2 separate regions of the Homo sapiens genome follow, and region 1 is linked to region 2. The links are contacts of gene promoters, found by promoter capture Hi-C in human tissues and cell types (Jung and others, 2019). All regions are on one chromosome and are shown on one strand. The core of a region is centred on a gene start or on the middle of the fragment in contact, and the rest is flanking DNA. Distances in the headings are between cores, read along the strand shown. Region 1 has its middle 26 kb from the start of NDFIP1. Region 2 holds the start of ARAP3 (ArfGAP with RhoGAP domain, ankyrin repeat and PH domain 3).

The links. The method cuts DNA at HindIII sites, captures the fragments that hold promoters and counts their contacts. A contact is called where the count stands out against the background at its distance.
Region 1: a fragment that was not itself captured here is called in contact with the fragment with the promoter of ARAP3 in region 2 in 1 of the 25 tissues and cell types used here (spleen).

Annotation. Positions count from the first base shown.
Region 1 is chr5:142,080,345-142,084,556 of GRCh38, forward strand. No RefSeq gene overlaps it. Among named protein-coding and RNA genes, the nearest start is that of NDFIP1, 26 kb to the right of the region's middle. The HindIII fragment of the contact is 5,041 bases long and covers 1-4,020 here.
Region 2 is chr5:141,679,987-141,684,556 of GRCh38, forward strand. ARAP3 (ArfGAP with RhoGAP domain, ankyrin repeat and PH domain 3) reads right to left here and starts at 2,244. Exons shown (of 33, transcript NM_022481.6): 1 at 2,187-2,244; 2 at 1-517. The coding sequence starts at 500. RefSeq lists a silencer at 2,244-2,293. The HindIII fragment of the contact is 12,570 bases long and covers 1-4,570 here.

The DNA.
Region 1 (4,212 bases), core at 250-2,749, 400 kb after region 2:
CAGGTGAGGCAGACACCGCTTGAGTTTGCTTCTTGGCACACAGTGATTCCTCTTTTTCAGATGACTGCTTTTGTCTTGATTCCAGGGTTGAGTGGTCTCCTAGGTGCTGGTTTTTGACCAGAGGATGAAATGTGACTCAAACCTGTCAGAGTGCTTCCGTGAGAATGCTGGAAGTCGTAACATGGCAGTTGGAGCCGTAACACGTAAAGTGAAGTGATCTAGACCAGGGGTCCCCAACCCCTGGGTCGTGGACCTGTACCAGTCCATGGCCTATTAGGAACTGGGCTGCATAGCAGGAGGTGAGTAGCAGGTGAGCAAGCATTACTGCCTGAGCTCCGCCTGCTCTCAGATCAGCAGTGACATTAGATTCTCATAGGAGCAGGAACTCTATTGTGAACTGTGCATGTGAGGGATCTAGGGTATGCACTCAGCACCACTTATGAAAATCTAACTAATGCCTGATGATCTGAGGTGGAACAGTTTCATCCCAAAAGCATCCCTCCATCCCCTGTCCACGGAAATTGTCTTCCATGAAACCAGTCCCTGGTGCCAAAATGGTTGGGGACTGCTGCTCTAGACGGCCATGATTTTCTATCCTATGGGTCAGGAAAGCAGATGGAGGTTATCTGCAAAGATAAGATAGAGACAAAGCACATGTGTAGGTTTAGAGAGGTACAGGTGAAAGATGGGGAGTGCTGCTGGTGTTTGAGTCTCTGGTTGCAACATATATTTGCCCCAGCTAAATTATCATGCTTTGTCCTGTGAGATACCCTGGATTGCTACTATACATGTCCACTTTTTTTCACTTAATCTAGCACAAATGGGTTTCTCACTGCTAAAAGAGTCTGAATAATTCTGAATAATTCATACTTCAAATCTAGTTTTTGTCATCAGATCAGGTCTAAATAGATTTTCTAGGAAGTTCATAAAGCTGAAGCTTAAGCTTCGGGGCCATTCACTTGCAAAGGTCCCTTCCAAAGCTCCATTTTGTATTTGGAATTTTGTATGCTTTTTCTGTTTTTTCTTTTCCTTCTTTTTCTTTTTCTTTCTTTTTTCTTTTTTTTTTTTTTTGAGTTGGGGTCTCACTGTGTCACCCAGGCTGGAGTGCAGTGGTGCCATCTGGGCTCACTGCAACCTCCGCCTCCCGGGTTCAAGAGATTCTCCTGCCTCAGCCTCCTGAGTAGCTGGGATTACAGGCACATGCCACCACGCCCGGCTAATTTTTGTATTTTTAGTAGAGACGGGGTCTCACCATGTTGGTCAGGCTTGTCTGGAACTCCTGACCTCAAGTGATCCTCCTGCCTCGACCTCCCAAAGTGCTGGGATTACTGGCATGAGCCACCACGCCCGGCTGCATTCTTTTTCTTAAAGAGGGTTATCCAAATTGTATAAACCTCAGGCTCCACAAAATGTGAATTTTCCCTGTATACCCATTCCTCTCTGTGGTTGCAGATACAAACTTTTGGTAATTTCAGAAAGACTATTCCTCCATAACTCCAAATTTATAACTTCTTTAGGTCCTTTGACGAGCCTCCCTCTGCCTGCAATGTTCTGCCTCCAGACTTTTCAGGAGTTGGCTCCTTCTTACAAATCAGGTCTTACTTTCAATGTGTCAAAGAGTAACAGAGCCACTTGTTACAGGTGGTAAGACAAAAAAAATTTATTCAGTACTACTGCCACAAGGGAGAGAGACTTCAGTGTAAAGGCAGCTCAACTCCACCAAAACAAAAGCTTGAAAGCCTTTTAAATCCCGGAGTGTGCTAAAGGAAAGATACTAAAGGACATTAAGGGGGCTTTAGTCTACCTGATTGGGCTATCTGGGTTTGTTAACTGGAACTTCTGTGGAGGAGAAACAAACTGCTCCTATCATTAGGGCAGGAGGTAGTTTTGTAAATTGGAGCAAGGCACCCACAGAAGTTAGGCTCTTACTCTCCCAAAGGAACTGGGAGACAGAAGTACTACCTCCCTGGATGTCTGCCTTTCAAAGAGATGGCTCCTATGTCCTTGAGGAAACTTTTCTGAATGGTAACATATTTACATCTTAAAGGGGCAGGGAAAGGATTCATAATGGCAAGCTTTCTAAAGTAAAGGCTCTAAGAGTAAAGAAATCAGGAACCTATTGTCAGGTCTTGGTGGGAACAGTACATTTTTTTGGCAGTGTTGAGCTTTCTCAAGCAGGCACTTAAAGTGGGGCTGGGGCCAGAAGTCATGCTAGAGTTTAGTCAAGTCTCTTAGTGCAGCAAGGTTGGGAGGGTGGTCAATGGTATTGGATGGAGTCATTTGTGCCAAGGGTTTTGTAGTTCTCAAATGTCACCACCTTCAGAAGGCATTCTCTCTATAACTCACCCAAGGAGTTCCTTCACATCATCTTGTTTTCTTGACAACTTCTTGACCTTTATTTTCTTACATATGCCACCTCCTACTTTTTCTAAAATGAAAGTACCATAAGAGCAGGAATACTGTCTTGCTCGCTGCTGTAGCCCCAGCATCTAGAACAGTGCCTGGCACATAAGAGGCATTCAATAAACATCTGTTAGAATTATATTTACAAATATTTATAAAGTGTTTGTGTGCTGGGCATTATTCTAACACCTTAACAAATAAAGTTCCCAAGTTTCTATTATTGTCTATACTCTGGATCAGATTTTCAATTCCTTTTTTTTTTTTTTTTTTTTTTTTTGAGATGGAGTTTCACTCTTGTTGCCCAGGCTGGAGTGCAACGGCTTGATCTTGACTCACTGCAACCTCTTCCTCCTGGGTTCAAGCTATTCTCCTGCCTCAGCCTCCCGAGTAGCTGGGATTACAGGCATACGCCACCACGCCCAGCTGATTTTGTATTTTTAGTAGAGACGGGGTTTCACCATGTTGGCCAGGCTGGTCTTGAACTCCTGACCTCAGATGATCCACCCACCTTGGCCTCCCAAAGTGATGGTATTACAGGCATGAGCCACTGCGCTTGGCTCAATTCCTTTTTTTTTTTTTTTTTTTTTTTTGAGACAGAGTCTTGCTCTGTCACCCAGGCTAGAGTGCAGTGGCATGATCTCGCCTCACTGCAACCTCTGCCTCCCGGGTTCCAGCAATTCTCCTGCCTCAGACTCCCTAGTAGCTGGGATTACAGGCACGTGCCACCACGCCTGGCTAATTTTTGTATTTTTAGTAGAGATGGGGTTTCACCATGTTGGCCAGGCTGGTCTTGAACTCCTGACCTCAAGTGATCCGCCCACCTCACCCCCGCAAAGTGCTGGGATTATAGGCGTGAGCCGCCATGTCCAGCACTTAATTCTTTTTTATAAGGAAGAAAACTGCAACTCATCAGCAAATATTTATTAGGCTATGCCTGTGTTCCAGGTACTGGGCTAAGTGTTTCACAAACATTATCTCAAACGAATCCTCACAGCAACCTTTTAAGGTAGGCTATTCACTCAAGACTGCATTTGGCTGCGTGTAACCAAATCCTGACAACAGTGGCTTAACCCACTAAGAGTTAATTTCATCATGTAACAAGAAGTCTGGGGCATGTGGTCCAGGATTTATCACGAACCCACCAAGGCCTGGGTTTCCTGTTTTCCTGCTGTCTCGTTCCTAGAATGTGGCTCTTATGAGACGATTGCAACCATTCTAGGTGTCATTTTCTTTCTTCAGGCAGGAACAGGGGAAGAATAAAGTTCAAAGAGTATGTATCAGCTGAATCTCTCCCTTCTGATGAGGGATACAATTGTCTTGGAAGCTCCTTATATGATAATACTGTTTATACCTTGATACAGTTAGGCTTTGTGTCCCCACCCAAATCTTATTGTGAATTGTAATCCCCATAATCCCCAGGTGTCAAGGGAAAGACCAGGTGTAGGTAACTGAATCATGGGGAAAATCAGTTTTCTCCATGCTGTTCTCCCGACAGTAAGTCCTCACAAGATCTGATGGTTTTATAAGGGGCTCTTTCCCCTTCACTCAGCACCTTTCCTTCCTGCTGCCGTGTGAAGGTGCCTTGCTTCCCCTTCATCTTCTGCCATGATTGTAAGTTTCCTGAGGCCTCCTCAGCCATGCTGAACTGTGAGTCAATTAAGCCTCTTTCCTTTATAAATTACCCAGGCTTGGGCAGTTGTTTACAGCAATGTGAAAACAGACTAATACATACCTCATACTGCTTATATACCTCCCAGTGGTCAAACTGAGCCACTCTGAGTGGCAAGTAAGTCTGGAAGGTGAGTATCT
Region 2 (4,570 bases), core at 994-3,493:
CCTCTTGAGTCCAGGCCGAAGTAGATGGAATTAGGCATCATCTCCACAGTATTTAGGGCTGAAGACTGCTCAGAGGAGGAAGTGGGGAGAGGAGGAGGCCTTGGGCTGGGCTCTGGGCTCCTGGACACTCCTGGTCCCCCGAGGGCTGGGCTCAGCCCAGGTCTCTGAGTGGTGGCAGGGCCACTGAGTCCACCAAACACGGTCCTGGGCTTCGGCACGGGCTTAGGGGGCTGGGCTTGCGGGGCTGGGCTGGGGGATGGTTCCATGGCACTATCTGATTTGGGATCCAGGGAGCCCTCTTCGGTGCCTGTCTGTAGCAGGCGTAGAATGCGTTTCCGGTGCCCTGTGGCGCTGATGCCCAACTGCTTCAACTCCTCGTGGCCCAGGCCCCGGGCTGCACCTGCTGTAGCCAGGCCATGCCGTCGGAACGTGTCTGCATACTGCTCCAGGTGCACCGTGGCCAGCCACACAGCGATGTCCAGGTCCTGAGGGGCAGCCATGGGGGCTCAGGCCATTGCTGGGGGGAGGGGCAGGGTGAAGGGAGGGCTCAGGCTGAGAATCCCCCTCTCTGCCCCAGAGTCTGAGGCCTGGACAGTGAGCACCAGCCTCCAATCTTCCTCCAAAGAAAGATGCTGAAAGGCCTGCGATCTGGAAGCAGAGCCATCCCAGAACAACAGCAATGGCTCTCTACTTAGGGAAGGGACTTCATTTGAAGTTAAGGAAACTGAGGCCCAGAGAGGGGAAGGGGCTTGCCCCAGGTTCACAGTAAGTCAGTGCTAGAGTTGGCCCCTCAGTTCCTGCCCACCCTGGGTCTGGGTCAAAGCTCTGCTCCTGCCTGACTGCACATCCAACTGAGTAAGCATGGGACAAGATGCTAGAATGCTGTGGGTCAGAGTGGGATAGGGAGATGCAGAGGAGGGGCCAATGATGTGGCCAATCAGCTCTGGAGTAAGGTAGGGAGAGGGGCAGCCTAGATAGGAGGAAGGAGGTGCAGACGCCCCCTCCCTCTTGTTTCCAGAGCCGATGTATGCAGGCCTGCCGTCCTAATCCTGGTTGTTCCCAGTCCCTCCTCCCCTTCCACCTATTGTCTCTGCTCAGACTTCCTTCCTGTCCCTCCAGCCCTGGCCGCCTCCACATCCTGCCTGCTTTGGTCAGGCTGCCGGGAGAGCCCTAACCAGTCCTAATGTGTGGGGTCCCGGCCCTGGGTGGAGGCTAATTGAAGAATAAGGATGGGGATGCCAGAGAGATGAGGCCTGACCTCTGGTCAGGGGTACTCCAGAGGCTTCTGGACTCTCTGCCCACCGGCAGCATGTTCACATGCTGTTCACCTGTGTGTGCACATGCCCTGTAGCGATTTGGCAGTGTGAAATGCCATCCCCCCACCTCTGCTTTCTCCAAGCCTTCCTTTTCTGAGCTTGCCTTTTCCCTGCTCATTCCCTTGGGCTCAGGTCTCTGTGCTCTGTCCCCCTTCCACCAGCCTGACCCCGACCCTGACCCTGGTCTATTTCATAGACCTGTCTCTAATTCTGTGGCCCCTGAGTTTTATCTCTGCCTTGTCACTGTCCCTGCCCCATTCCATCTCAACCTCTCAATTCTTCTTTGTCCCTCTCCTTGTCCCACCCTGTTTTGCTCTCTGTTATTAAGCTTGTCCTTGACTCAGTCTACAATTCTAACCAGATCTTGAGTTGTATCTGTGTCTCTGTCTGCCTCTGAGCCTGGGTTTCTGTCTTCCGCCTCGGCCTAGGCTCTCTCCCTGTTACTCTTGTGCTCTGTCGGTGACCAGGACGCCCTCTCCGTCCCAGCATCACTGCTGGCCTCCCTCTGCCTCTCTCCAGCTGGGCCTCATTCCCAAGCCAGGGCCCGCGTGCTGAGCCTCGGGCCCTGACTCAGGGCCCGGTTTCCCGGTGACTCAGGCCGGGCTCGACAGCACGGGGCTGGGAGCTGAGGTGCTCGCGGGACAGGAGTGGCGGGGGCGGGGCGGGCAGTGGCGGGCAGCGCAGGCTGCGACGAGGGAGGGGGCGAGGAGGGATGGGGCAGAGGCCGGGCAGCAGGAGGGAGGGGCGGGTCGTGGCAGGGATGGGGAGGGCCGCCGGCGCCGAGGGGGCCTGGGAGCCCACGAAGGCCCTCGAGAAGGTGATGGGGAGGAGTCTGGGAAGCAGGGACCCGGGGGGCGCGGGGGTCCTCACCTCACTACGCGGCCGCCGTCCGCTCGCGGGTGCCCGCCGCTCGTCCGAGGTTCTGGGTCCCGCCGCGCCGGCCCCGCCTCCCCTCTGCCCTCCCTCGACGGGCCCAGCCCCGCCCCGCCCGGCCGGTTCCCTCCGCGGGGCCCCGGCCACTCCTTGTGCAAGCGCAGGCCTCCAAAGGGTTTGGGCTTCTTGCCCAACCGCCGCGCTTATCTCCGAGTCTGCCCCCAGTCTGCCCTCTCGCAGGCCGAGAAAGGACCAGAACACGTTGGGACGAAGACAACCTCAGGGAGAGGGACAAAGAGGCAGAGACCGGGACGGAGACTGGGACGGAGGTAGAAACTGAGAAAGGGAGAGTGCCAGGGACGGCTTTGCATCCTCTCCGCTGCTCCCATGCCCTCCAGTCCTGCCAAAAGGGAGGAGGAAAGGTCGAGCCCTAATCCCCCAGGGCACCTCTCCCACGCCCGGAAGGGTGGCTGGACCCTGGCAACCAGTTTAGTGTGGGGACGGAAGCTGGACATCCAGAATTGAGACTTGGCCTGGGCAACAAGCGCAGAGGCCCAGCAGAGGGGTACCCGTCTGTTTCTCCCCACTTCCATCCCCAAGGGCCCGGCCTAGGTTCCTTCGAGGGATGAAGGTCCGCAAGGCACATCCCTACTTCCAAACCAAGGTTTGGGGCTGCCTTTTTGGGACAGGCGGACGCCCTGCAAGCTCAGTGACCAAGCAAGCAGCTGTTTCATTCATGGGAGAAGCCGCCCCTTCTCCCCAACTCCCACCCTAAAATTTCAGGGGGGATGCCGGGGAGGCCTGAAGAGGAATGGCCCTTCTCTCCTTCGCTAATCTTGCCGGAACCCCGGTCCTGGAGCCTGTCTCCCAGGGGCGGAGGCACTTCCCTCTCTGAGCAGGACCAGTGTTTGGGTGTGGGGGGGGGGTGTTTGTGTGTGTGTGTGTGTGTGTGTGTGTGTGTGTGTGTGTGTGTGTGTGTGTGTATGTGTTGGGGGTGGCGGGGGCGCTGGCCGGCTGTGTTTTCCTGTTTGTATGAGAGGAAGTTGGCTGTGAGTCAGCAGACACAGGAACTGTCAGTAGCTAGGGGAAGACCCCTGCCTCAGGGGAAGAAGAGGGGAGTGGGAGGAAGTGGTTCCCACCTCTTCCAGCTGCCTCAGCTAGGGGAGGGACTGTCATCTTCAACCTACTGGAGCCCCACTTTCCCGGCCTTCCCTTTGAGAAAGAGAATTATAGTAATAAAATAATAATTGCAATAGCCATAATAAGGGCTACCAATTATTGAGAGCTGACCGTGCTCCAGGATCTATGTAAACATTGCTTTGCAAACTTTAATCCTCACAAATATCCCTACAAATAGGAAATTTTATCACCTCTATTTTACATATAAGGAGACAGGGAGCATTAAATAACTTGCTCAAGACTCTGCAGCTAGAAAATAGCCAACCCTCCAAGTCTATATCTATAACTACCATGCTCACCTACCACCCTGGACAGGACCCCTGCACCATGTCCTTTTTTTCAGATGGGCAACTGTGGTGGCAGTGAGAATGCTCCTCACAGATCTTACACTGTGAGGAGTGAAATTAACCAATGGCCCCAGCTGCTTCTCTCTGAAATCTAAGGCCAGCTTCCCACTGGGCTGCTCCCAGCCAGTGACAGAGCTCAGCAGAGATCTAAGGCAGACCCATTCCTGGGAGATAGGGGACTCCTTTGACAGCTGACTTTGGATCAAGATTTCCCAATGGCTTTGCTGAACTTTCCTTTGACTGGTGTTTTAGGATGCTCCTCTCAACCTTTATTCCTTCCCTCTCTCCTTCACAGCTCTCCTAGCTCCAGGCTCCCTTCCTCTCTCACAGGCATCTCCCCTAGTCAAATCCTTGCATTCTGCCTTGGCAGCTTCTTCTTTAAGGACTCAGACTAACCCAGCAAAATAAGGGAGCAGGAAAAGACAGTAAAGGGCACAGGGAGTTTTGAGGAATGGATGCCGGGGAGTTTGGGTCAGGGGCTAGATGCAAGAGTTCTGAACCTTTTTGTGCCATGTTCTCCTTTGGCAATACGGTAAAGTATGTGGTCTCATCTCAGAATAATATTTTAAAATGCATAAAATAAAATATATAGGATTGCAAAGGAAACCAATTATGTTGTAATACACATATAAAACCGATGTGATATAGTAATATATGTGCTTCTTTATTAATGCTTTAAATAAGATCTAGTGGTAGGTTGATACCTCACATAACTTTGATGCAGTGATGAGCATAAATGGTATTTCAAAAGATCTGCAATATTGTAATATGATATAAAAATATATGTGATTTCTACTGGTGACAAAGCCATAGTTATGGCTAAAATGACTGGTTTGTTGCTATTGTCATAATTGG